Linked DNA regions of Homo sapiens: all the other regions are linked to region 3. The links are contacts of gene promoters, found by promoter capture Hi-C in blood cells and fetal thymus (Javierre and others, 2016). All regions are on one chromosome and are shown on one strand. Each heading gives the region's core, a stretch centred on a gene start or on the middle of the fragment in contact. The rest is flanking DNA. Distances are from core to core; before and after follow the strand shown. Region 1 has its middle 3.8 kb from the start of MIR4757. Region 2 has its middle 4.6 kb from the start of OSR1. Region 3 holds the start of GDF7 (growth differentiation factor 7).

The links. Contacts are between HindIII fragments. The CHiCAGO score rates a contact against its expected background, and 5 or more counts as called.
Region 1: a fragment that was not itself captured here is called in contact with the fragment with the promoter of GDF7 in region 3 in 1 of 17 cell types (naive B cells); the score reaches 5.3 in naive B cells.
Region 2: a contact is called between a fragment that was not itself captured here and the fragment with the promoter of GDF7 in region 3, in 1 of 17 cell types (total B cells). The highest score is 5.3, in total B cells.

What each region holds. Positions count from the first base shown.
Region 1 is chr2:19,342,500-19,346,711 of GRCh38, reverse strand. It overlaps a transcript of OSR1 not described here. Among named protein-coding and RNA genes, the nearest start is that of MIR4757, 3.8 kb to the left of the region's middle. The HindIII fragment of the contact is 436 bases long and covers 1,830-2,265 here.
Region 2 is chr2:19,361,330-19,365,146 of GRCh38, reverse strand. No RefSeq gene overlaps it. Among named protein-coding and RNA genes, the nearest start is that of OSR1, 4.6 kb to the right of the region's middle. RefSeq lists an enhancer at 1,042-1,843. The HindIII fragment of the contact is 5,959 bases long and covers 1-3,817 here.
Region 3 is chr2:20,665,585-20,669,767 of GRCh38, reverse strand. GDF7 (growth differentiation factor 7) reads right to left here and starts at 2,624. Exons shown (of 2, transcript NM_182828.4): 1 at 2,138-2,624. The coding sequence starts at 2,528. RefSeq lists enhancers at 1,945-2,064, 3,051-3,881 and silencers at 2,545-2,694, 2,735-2,784, 2,855-2,964. The HindIII fragment of the contact is 16,143 bases long and covers 1-4,183 here.

The DNA of each region.
Region 1 (4,212 bases), core at 798-3,297, 1.3 Mb after region 3:
ATTGCATCCTCAACCTCCCCGACTCAAGCAGTCCTCCCACCTCAGCCTCCTGAGTAGCAAGGCTACAGGTGTGTGCCACCACGTCTGGTAATTTTTTCTACTTTTTTTGTGTAGAGACGAGCTCTTGCTATGTTGCTTAGACTGGTCTTGAACTCCTGGTCTCAAGTGATCCTCCCACCTTGGCCTCCCAAAGTGCTGGGATTACAGGCGTGAGGCACCATGCCTGACCCATTTGTTTTCTTTGACTTGTGTTAGAGCATCCTAGTCTAAAGAAAAAGTGGCCACACAATGTTCTTTATGTGGACTTCTGCAGGAATGGTCCTCTCACCCAGTCACCCAGTCCTGGCAATTTGCTGCCATTTTTTTTGGTCATTTTTCCTGGCTAAGTCTAGTTCCAGCTCCAGAGATTAGAATATGAAAGGATTAACCCCCCAAAATGGGATGGAGGGATGAATGAGTTGAAAGTTTTTGTTTCCCTTTTCCAAACACTGAGTTGGCTCTCATCAGCACAGCTGTCTCTGGGGATGTATAAAGCGTAATTAATACATTTTAAATGTTTGGTTTCAACTTTTTTTGCTAGTGAGATAAGATAAGGAGTTTTTGTCATGACAAGGGAAGGGGTGGATTTCTTTCTATCATTTGCAGGAGTGGGTACCACTTGGATCCTGTAGGTAGACAGTTGCATGAGATGATAAACTTTATAGGGGGCATGGAAGAAAGCCAGTGGAGATGGGGAAGGAATGGCTAGACTCTTTAGCTTCCTGACAACCAGAGGGGGAAAATGAACTTCCAGAGAATTTGGGTTTTGCCTTAAATATTGAAATTTGCTTGGGCATTTGGTCCACTTCTTAATTAACCTGGGTCCAGAACTGAATGTCTTTGCAGTCGGAGCTCAGAATTGCTTTGGTATCTCACAGTACACATAGCATTTCCCTGTTGGTGTACGGTAGGCCAAGGACCAGAGCATGTGTTGTGCTGTAGCCAAAAGGAATAGTCTCCATGACCTTATCGTTGGAGAGATCATTGGACACTGAAATAGTTGAGCATGGACACTCTAAGATGGGTGGAAATACTAGAAGAGTTATTATTAGCAGAGGGATCTATGTATCCATAAGATCCATATTTTTAATTATAATGTTCATATCTTCTATATTCTTTTTAATAAATGGTGCTGGGAAAACTGGCTAGCCATATGTAGAAAGCTGAAACTGGATCCCTTCCTTACACCTTATACAAAAATTAATTCAAGATGGATTAAAGACTTAAACGTTAGACCTAAAACCATAAAAACCCTAGAAGAAAACCTAGGCATTACCATTCAGGACATAGGCATGGGCAAGGACTTCATGTCTAAAACACCAAAAGCAATGGCAACAAAAGCCAAAATTGACAAATGGAATCTAATTAAACTAAAGAGCTTCTGCACAGCAAAAGAAACTACCATCAGAGTGAACAGGCAACCTACAAAATGGGAGAAAATTTTCGCAACCTACTCATCTGACAAAGGACTAATATCCAGAATCTTTAATGTCTTGATTTCTTTACCTGTTAATTCCTAACTGACACTTTAGTGTGTATTAAAAACTCCCGCCGTGATGGTGGAACTGTCATTTTCTTATTGTAGTTCCATCAAAGATATATAAATTATATATACATATATACAAAAATTATATATATGTACACACATATACATGTATGACTGTTTAAGCTATTTACATTTATTGTGATGTCTATATTGCTGTTATCTTCTACCATCTCACTTTATGTTTCTAGTTGTCCAACTGTTTTAATGCCCCTTTTCTGACTTCCTCTGAATAAAATGATAAGCTTTCGCTTAATTTCTTTAGTGCTTACTCTTGAATGTTTAATATGTTTACTTAGCTTAAAGTCTCAATCAGTAACATCACTTACCTTTTTAATAATATAATAAATACAGCAACTTCGGTCACACCTGACCAAGATCCCAGTTTATATGTCCCACAAAATTCATTAGGCTCTTTACCCTCACCACCCTTCTCACCACTCCTGGGCCTTGGCTGCTCACCTGAGGCATTGCTTCCTTTGGATTTTCGGTGGCTGCATGGAAGACCAGCTTATCCTTGAGTTCACCCTGACCATGGTTACATTTGTCTCTCCATGACAGTCAGTAGTGCTCTTGGGAATTCAGCGTGGCAGTTGGGACAATGGCAGGGGCTGGGGCTTTACCTCTGTGGGAAAAGTATGAAACATTGCTAGGGCTTTTCCAGCCAGAAAGCTGGGCAAGCTTTTGCCCCTAGCAAAGGATAAGTTTTATTTTAATTGTCATAAGTGTGTATTTAACTGGGCCAAGGAGGATTGGAAGTGCTGGGGAAAGCATTCAGTTGTAATACATTCCTTCAGCTTTACCCCCAAATGTTTTAATTTGAAAATTTCCAAGCATATAGAAAAATTGAAATAATTTTATAGTGAGCATCCATAGAATGGATTTCTTTGAGTTTATCCTCCTTGGGGTTTTCTCAGATTCTTAGTCTGTAGGTTTATGCCTTTTTTCATATTTGAAAATGTTTCAGCCAATTACCACCTAGATTTCACAATTGGTCTTTTACTATACTTGCTTTCTCACAGTCATCCATCAATCTATCCTTCCAACATTTTTAAAAATGAAAATTTGCAAACATACAGAATAATAGAAAGAATAGTACAAAACACACCCTCAGATTATCCTCATAGAGTCAACAATTGACAATGTTTTATTCTATTTGTTTCCCTCTCTGTCTTTCTCTCTGAATCATTTGAAAGTCAGTTCCACACTTCATTATATTTCATCCCTAAATATTTCAGCACATATCTCTTAGAAATAGACATTATCCTACATAACCACATTATTATGACACTAAAGAAAGTTAACAATTTTATATCATTTCATGATCAAATGTTCCATCTATATTTGTTTCTCCAAATTTTCCAACCTCTTGTATTTTTAAAAATCAGAAACCAATAAAACTTCTTACATTGCATTAGTCTTTAGTGTCTTTTAATCTAGAACAGTCACCTGTTTTAAAAATGTTTTTTATTTTGAAATAATTATAGATTTACAGAAAATTACAGAGTGGTTCCATACACACTTCACTCCATTTCTCTCAGTGGTTAGTTACATCTTGCATAATGATAGTACAATATCATACCAGAAAATTGATATTGATACAATGAGTGTGTGTAGTGTTATGCTATTTTATCACATGTTTAGATTCCTGTAACCACCACTACAATCAAGATATGGAACTATTTCACTAGTTAAAACATTTTAACAGTTTGAGAAAAGTGTAAAAACCTGACCTCCCTTTAAGCTCCTTTATCCTCCCTGTTTATGGCACATTGGCCTTAAATATTTCTTCTACATACATTGAGATCCACATTACACAATGCTAAGTTTTTGCTTTGACCATCAAAGTAATTTAGAGAAATCAAGAGGAAAGGTAAAGTTTATTGAATTTCACCATGTTTTTGCTTTTTCCATTGTTCTTTTTTTCTTCTTGATGTTCCAAGTTTCCTTCTTTTATTATTTCCTGTTTTGAGAACTTATCTTCTTTAGCCATTCTTTTAGGGTAGGTATGCTGGTGACAAATCCTTTTAGTTTTCCTTCTTCTGAGTATGTCTTTTTGCTCCTTCATTCTTGAAGGTTAATTTCACCAAGAATTCTAGGTTGACACTTACTTTCTTTCAGCATTTGAAAAATGTTATTACTTCCTTCTGGCTTCCATGGTTGCTAATCAGAAATCCACTGTCATATGAATTGTTTTTCTCCTATACGTAAGGCGTCATTTTTCCAATGCTACCCTCCTCTCCTCTCCCCTCCCCTCCCTCCCTTCCCCTCTTTTTTTGAGATGGAGTTTGGCTTTTGTCACCCAGGCTGGAGTGCAATGGTGTGACCTCGGCTCACTGCAACCTCTGCCTCCCAGGTTCAAGCGATTCTCCTGCCTCAGCCTCCCAAGTAGCTGAGATTACAGGCACCAGCCACCATACCCAGCTAATTTTTGGATTTTTAGTAGAAACGTGTTTTCACCATGTTGGCCAGGCTTGTCTCGAACTCCTGACTACAGTTGACACCTGCCTCAGCCTCCCAAAGTGCTGGGATTAGAGGCATGAGCCACCACGCCTGACTTCCAGTGCTGCTTTCAGATTACTTTCTTTGTCTTTAGTTCTTCAATTTTCAGAAGTTTGAGTATGATGGTT
Region 2 (3,817 bases), core at 540-3,039, 1.3 Mb after region 3:
GCAAATGAAGTCATGATTCCAGAAACTCTCTATCTGGAATAGATAGATTATAATACTTTAGTTTTAAGTTTTCTCTCCATTTCTTTATTGTTGACATGTGATATGAAAACCAATACTTAAATATACTAAACCCGACCATTGGTCATTTTGAAGTGAAAATCATATGCTAATATATATTTTCTTTTTTGTTTTGTATCTACTTCAAGTGTTTCAGCAAATGCTTTTCTTTTCCATGGAAAGGTTCTCATGTAGGGAATTGGAGATATGACCAGCAAATTCATTTGCCTGGAGTCACCTAGGAAGAGAGTTATGGTGGGAACTGGCATTTCAAGTGTCCCCCCACTTCCAGCCTAGACCATGGAGGAAGAATATCTGTCTTTTGAGGGTGGCTAAAATAAGGGATTGTGGTTTTCCGCTGTGTGCAGAATCCCCACTACATTGTGATGTAACTCAGATGCACAAATATGACTCTATGACTCCTCCTCCTGAGTCTAACTTCCTAGAAATCAGAGAAGGAAAGATTTATTTGTATTTATTTATTTTTGCTGATGGGGTGGTCCCCTCCCAGTTCACTGTATTCCCTTTGTGGAACATTCTCAATTCCAATCTGTCATCCTTCCATCCCTCTCATCTCCCCAAAACTGATGCTTAAGTTTAAGTTGCACTTGGTAGAGGAACACCAGGTATTAAAGCCACATCCAGTAGGATGCCTTTCAAGTTCCCAGGAGCAATAGCATCCCTTCTAGTTGGGCCACCGCCTTGGGGGCTCAGCACCTCTTCAGGGTGACAGTCTGAAGCCAGGAAGCACCCCTGGTATAAACACTAAAGAGGCAGAAGCACCTGGCCTCCTTCTATTCAGTAGGTAATTCTACTCATCCATTAGGTGAGGCACAGCGCGGCTTTGCATCACTTAGGGAGGGTTGGTGAATGTAGTAATTCTTTGGAATGTCCAAGTTGGGTCCACTCCCTTTCCACCCCTCACTGCAAGCTCAGGATAGGGAAGTGGGAGGCCCTGCCTCAGAGGAGCAAAGTGAGTGATGGGCAGCAGGAGGACACAGCCTTCCTCTAAGAGCTTGGAGCAGGTAGGGAATCTGTCTTTCTCTCTGCCCTTTTCTTGCTTGTTTTCTCTGGGTATTTTGCTCCAATGAGTGGACCTGACACTTTAGGAACTCATTCTATGCAATGTGGCATAGTCCTCTGTAGACAGAGAATTAACCAAAGAGCTTGTTAATAGGTATATTCTTAGGATTTCTCTCTTCAGGTCTCTATCTGAATACCTAGAGCTATGATGACAAGGGAGGGTCCTGCTAGAATATTCTGTACGGAAATCCGAAAAAAAAAAAAAGGAAGCAGCAGAGGAACTGGAATCTAATGGTCTGGGAGGAAGGAGAGGATAGGAAACCTCACGTGTTTCAGGGAAATCGATTCACGGAAACAGACTCTCTCTCTTCTTCCCGCGCTTCTTCAGAAAGCCAGGATTTGGGATCCGAAGCAGGACGTGCAGACCTACGAGGGGCTGCGGACGGAGGCACCGGAGGGCACTTCTCACCTCCGGGTGTGCCGGGAGGGGCACGCGGACCGAGCTTGCAAATGCAGGATGGGGTCCCAGTAGATCTTTGCTCATCGTCTTCCCAGGACCAGAAGCGAACGGCGGCAGATAGTTGCTAGGAATTTCGGATTATTTAAAAACAAACAAACAAACAAACAAAAGCCCTCATCCATCTGAGAGCAAGGACGTCTGGTTTGGGGCAGGGAAACAGAAACCCCGTGGCGAGAAGAAATTCCTCCTCCGTTTGCTCTTTGGAAGGGTAAGCGTGTGCGTACTTTTAAATGAGTAGCAGCAAACTTCTAACTGAGAAAAGAAAAACTGAAGGACTAAAATACTCTTGGGCAAAGTGAAATAAGGATACTGTGGGTTTGCGAGTTTTCCAAGAAGGGGTCCCGAGATGTGGCTTGCTCGCCAGCAGGGGGCACGTTTTCTTTAGGATTGCGTCCCAGAATCTCGAAACCTCGCAGCCGGACTCTCTCCGAGTCCCATCGCCGGAAATCGCTCTGCAGATAATAACCCTCCGGTGTCTGGAAATGTTTAATTACCGCGAACTCTCCTTCCTCCAGCGCCACCCGCCGCCGGTGCAGCCCGGAAGGACCCAGCGCCGCGGGTGCAGTAGGTGGCTCTATCTGCAGGATTCCACCCTAACTATTCACAATTCCGTTCAAACTACTGTTCTCCAACATCCCCGGCTGATTAGACATTGCCTTGTTTCTAATGCACTTATTTACACCTTGGAAAAAGGAAAAGTTCATTAACCTTAGTACATAGATCTGGATGTGTCTAAAATAGTCTGACAACTCAAATTTGTGTAAAAAGTAAAAACCCATGCCGTCTTTTACATACATTTTACATTTGATCTTCACAACAGAAGACATCATCATTCCATTTTCCCGATGATCGTATGCCCATGCAATTCCATGCTAGTATTTATGCTTCATGTCACACATATTTTTACAAACCAAAGGTATATGTGTGTGTGTGTGTGTGTGTGTATGTATTGTTACATTTATTAAGGTGAAAGAGTTACATTTGTGTGCCCGTAAAGAACTTACCAAACGGGAACTGCCTGGAAAAACAGTTCACTTTCCCTTTCAGTTTTGATACTGTAACTTGTCTGTCGCTGTCACAACAAAAAACACCCGCTCTTGCGTTCACCTGGCATCTGTTCTCTTAAGGACCCTGGATTGCATTACGTTATCAGAGGTGTTATCTGAACAAATGTGCGCAGGAGTCCTGTTACCTACCTCCCGTGCTTAAAAATCCTTCCCACCCCCAAGCTGGATTTTGACCTGATTGACCGTAATGGTTCCAGAGGAACTATTGAGCCATTACTATCCATCATCTAAATGAATACAGAGGGACGCCTAAATCTCCAGGTTATTTGAAAGCCCTGTACATGCGTAAGGGGGTTTCTAACGAGCAGACCCCCAATTGTCTGCAAAGTAGTTACAGGAAGTAGTTGCGTTGGAAGCAAAAATTCGCAAGTGCTGAGCAAACTTCATTTGAAAAAATGAGGACTTTTTTTTTTTTTTTTAGGCTATGGGGTGCGGAGAGGTGGGGTTCATTTTTTTTTGAATCCAAAACAACTCAAAGCAATATAGACCACATTCTAGTTAATTTTCTGGAAGCTGCTCAATTTTCACTCCGAAGACAGGCTGGGGCGCTTTACCAAGGAGCAGGAATCGGGAGAGGGGCTGGGGTTTGGCGTGGAGACATGAGCAGCGGGCCGTCACCACCGCAGGCGTGCCCAGGAAAAGGCGGCAGCAGGGCTTGCTGCGGGACTGGGTTCAGTGCGGTCCACAGCCCGGAAGCCCGGGCAGACGGAGGGATCGCTCCCTTGACGGACCTCACATCGACTGGCGGGTTGTGGAGCGGAGCGCCGGACGGAGAGCTGGAGGCCTGGTCTCTACTGAGGGGACCCTTCTTCTAGGCTGCCCGGTCCCAGCCGAGTCTGGGACCACTCCGGCGCCCGCGGTTCCGCCCCGAAGGCAGTGAGCGAGAGAGCCAGAAAGAGTCGCGGCGGAGTTCGCGCCGGCTGGAGTCCGCAGGCTCCGAGCTAGCAGAAGCTGCAGCCGCGGTGGCGGAGTGCGCTGGACTCCCAGTAATGAGATGGGAGTTTTGTCACCTTCATTGGGTTTCCAGGAGGGCAGAACTGTTGGGTCCTAGCTACCGAGGACTTTTACCAAATTCGAAACGTGACGTCCTCGCGAGTCCTAAACACATGTAACCTCGCTTAAAAAGTACCCTTGTTGCTCTTAGGTGTCC
Region 3 (4,183 bases), core at 1,375-3,874:
GGGCCAGGCTCGCCCAAGGTCTCAGGTCTTGCAACAATGGGCGCTGCTGCTCGCGATCGCAACCCCAAATGCACCTCCTCCCGGTGCTCTCGCGGCCTCCGAAGGAGGGGGAAAGGCAGTAAAGGAACACAAGGAACCTCCCGGAGGGGTGCGGGGCATCCCGGAATGACCTTGCTGCAGTGAGGGCAGCGTCCCAAACGAGGTCTCGCTTCCAGGAGCCGCCTGTCTGTCCCTTCGCGGGCTCATTCTTCCCTCTGTAGTGACTTATCTCGGGCTTAGGGGTTTTATTTCCAGTGTGGACACTCTTTTTTCTTTTTCCTTTTTGGGCTCAGAAAAAAAAAAAGTTTAAAATTCCACCACGCAGCAGATAAGGAGCTCCCTTTGAAGGGGGTCATATGGTTTCGTTTTGCCCCTAAACTCGGAGAGACTATGCAGAATCCCCCCACCACTGGGGATTTGCTCACCAGCCACGAAGGTCAGGCCCTCATGCCTGAGGTCCCGGTTCTATCCCTATCAATGGCTTCTGGGGACCTCAAGCAGCCCTGTTCCAAGTTGAGACTCAGGGTGGAGAGGGAGGCCGGAGAGGCACACTGGGGCTGCACGAGGAGCACTTTCTCTGAGATTCCCTGCAGATCCTCTGCCTCTCCCTGCTCACCAGCCCTGCCACTCTGTTTCCCCCAAGAGGGAGGAGGGAGAGGAGGCCTCTCAGGCTCAGCCAGCCAAGCTGAGCTCCCCAGAAAGGATTTATCTCCTGTCTGAGACCATGGTAGAACTAGCTCAACCTTAAGAAGACTCTGGTGCCTGTGCCCACTTAGAGCCCAGCACACCCCCCTTCTCCTGCAGCCTGGGACCCTTCAGTCCCTGTCCCTGTGCACCAGAACTAGGGCGTCCTATAAGTATCCCAGCATCCAGCCCAGGGGCCATGTCAGGCCGTCAGAGAAGGCTTGATAGTTCTAACCGAACCACAGGGCCATTTGGGGATTGGGTACCAAGATTTCCAGGTACCAAAAATAAGGCAGTCTGTGCTAGGCACTGGGCATGTGCTGGCAGGGATGGATGACCTGGTCACTTGCAAGGCCTCTGCCTGCCTTCCCAGGCTAGGACCTGAGGTATGCTGACTGTCAGTGGCTCCCAAGCAGGGCTGCCTCAGCCCCACCCGCTCACTTCCCAGCCCTATTCGCCTTTCTTTCCCTCCTGCCCTCCATGCTGGGTCTCTGGCTGGATAGAATTAAGGCCGAAATTACTTGCATTTCCGCCTGAAATTAGGTAAATTTTCTCTATCTGTCTGCTTTAATGATTTCAATGGAGATTAATAAAATCCAGATGACATACAGCAGCCACACCACAGCCTCACCTACATCTTACCTTTGGAAGGCCCAGGGCAGAACAAGGTGGGGTGCTTAGTCTAAGAGAGGCCTGCATTCCTGCAGGGTCCCCAGCAGGCCTCTCCTCCCCACACCACCAGGATCCTTGACCTCTGGCTCTCCCAGGGGCCCAGCACCAGACACAGGCACCCATAGCTGCACATGTCACACACACACAAACCACCACCACCCAGACCAACCTGCTGAGCAGGGCACTCCTCATACCTGGTTATGCCACCAGCCTCTCCAGGGCCATTTACTTTAGTCTGATACCTGCCTCTGCCCTAGTTTTCCCTGGGCTTCCCCCAATTTGTGTGGCCCGCAGGAGACTGGGAGCTGCAGAAATTGCTGCAAGGAAGGAGCCATCACCCTCACCACCGTGCAGTCCCTCTCGCCGTGACTCCCGGGAACACAGCTCTTGCCCTCCTTTCTTCTCTGAGGGCTCCGAGGCCACTCCAGACCATTCCCCAAGAAGCGAATCTTGGCCTCCGCCTGCCTCCTCGAGGGGACCAGCCGGCCTGCAAGGCCAGGGAGACCTGGGAGAGGGACCAGTCAGCCCTCTGGGACTGGGCCCCGGGAGCTGCCGCGACTCTCGCCACAGTCCAGGTGCAGCGGGCTGGAGAGTGTTGGCCTCGGCGAAGTTTCTTTCTATCACCTGAGGGTGGGCCGCATGGGGCCGCGGCTCCAAATGTAACGGAGCTGCGGCACGGCTCCGGGGCTGGTCTCAGCCCAGGACCTGACGGGATGGGCGGGCACAGAAGAGGCGTAAGTACCTTGGGTCGCCTGGTCTGTGAAGCCGGTGATCGTGTCCGCGCGACCATGGCCCGAGGCGGAGACAGCGGCTGCCCCGGCCGGAGCCCTCCCGGCCAGGCTCCGGTAAAGCGACATCATGAAGTGGTGCGGCACCACCGAGCCGTTCCTGAAGCCGGAGCCCGCGGCGCGGCGCGCGGCGCGGGCCCGGGGAACCGCGGCGGCCGGGACAGCCGCGGCGCCCGCAGCCTGGGCAAGAGTCCGCCCGCCGCCGCCGCCGCCGCCGCCGCCCCCTGGGCTCCGGACCGGCCCAGCCCCCGCCGCTCGCAGCACGGCGGCCGCTTCCAGCCCGTCGCGGGGGCGGCAGGCGCTCAGCAGCCAAAGGCACAGCGCGGCGGCGGCGCTCAGGTCCATGGGCTCCGTGGGCCGGGCGGGCGGGCGGCGCGGGCTCCGTGGCTCCGGGAAGTCCCCCGGCGCCTTTTGAACATAGTGTTTAATAATGGGGGAAGTGTGCGCGGCCAGCCCGCGGCCCCCCCTCCTGGCCCACCCCACCCCCGCCCAACGCCCGGAGCAGCGCCCCCTGCTGAAAGCTCCGGCGGCCGCTATGCGCCCCCCACCCCGGCCTAGAGTGGAGACCAGGGCCGGAGCCGCCTCCTCCCACCGCAGCGCTACGCCCCCACCCTCGCCAAGCGACTGCCACTGGCCCCAGCCTCCCGACACGCCTCCCCGCGGCAGTGCGACACCCCCTCCATCCGCCCAAGACCAACGCGCCCTCCGTGGTTCCAGGCTCGGGGCACCGCGCGCACCCGCCCAGCTTCCTCCCCACTCCCCCGCAGAGAAACACCCGCCCCCTCCCTGCCCTGGTTCCCAATGCCGGGAACGGGGCGGCAGAGTTGGGGCCGCGGAAGGGCTCGCCCTCCAGACCGCTTCGCGCCGCGGCCGGGTGGCCGCGCAGAGAGAGGCCACAGGATGCTCCCGGCGGCCTCAAAGTCGCGTTCCGGATCGCGGGTCGGCGGTTCCCCACTCAGCCACAGACCCCAAAGGATTGCAGCGGGCGGCCAGAGCAGGGGAGGGGGCCGGTAGGGGAGGAAGGGAGGGCGAGGAGCTGAAAGGGCAGGCCTGTAAGAGACCTTTGGACGCGGACCGCCCGTCGTAAAAGCAAGGTTTGGGCGCGGAAGTTGCGCTTCAGCGGGAGCCAAGCTCTAGAAAGAGCTCGAAATGAGGACGGCAGCCCCGGGTGATGGGGGATCTCGCGCGGGAGTGCGCTAAGAGTTTGGCTGTGCGTCCAACTGGCGACCTTCCACCCGCCTTCTGGGCGAGGGCAGCGGCTAACGAAAACCAGCTACCGGCTGTGTGCGTGAGCGGCCAGGAGCCGGGAGAGCGGACGGCGCAGAGCCCCGGGATGGCGCCTCCGAGCTTCTTACCCCGCCGCGGTGATGGCGCGGGTCCCGAGGTGGATGGAGGGGACGCCCGGCAGCGGCGAAGCCCTGGGGCGCACTCGCGCGGGCCGCAGAGCAGTTTGCTCCGCGGCTGGGACAGGTTGCGGAGGCCAAGTCTCAGGGGAACGCGCAGGAGAGGGGGGTTATCGGCTCTGCTCCGCCGGCAGCCTGGACATCCCCCTAGATCGGAAACTTTCAGCTGATCGAAGGCCTGGGCCAAACGAACTGCCGAAGAAGGGCAGGCGGGTCCTTTTCCTTTAAAATTGCATTTTCTGCAGAACTCAAAATCTAGACTGGGTCGGCACGTCGTGATCACCTTGAGCGGGTGATCAGCTTCAAAGCGAGGTCGCCCGCCGAATCCAAAGCCGCCTAGGTCCCGACGCCTGCCTGGCTGCGCTGCGCTGGGACCCACAGAGAGGCCCGGCCCAGGCTCCCCAGTTCCCCTGCTCCACTGCTTCGTCCCAAACGAACTCCTCAGCCATTGCCCTCTCGGCCACCGCGGAGACGCGGCGCCTGCTCACCTTGGGGCATTGAGCCGCATAACACTCGAGAATGTTTGCGGGTGGGAGAGAGAGGCCTAGTGAGGTTCAGTCCTCGCAGACCCCAAGGCCGATCTATGCCAAGGAGAAA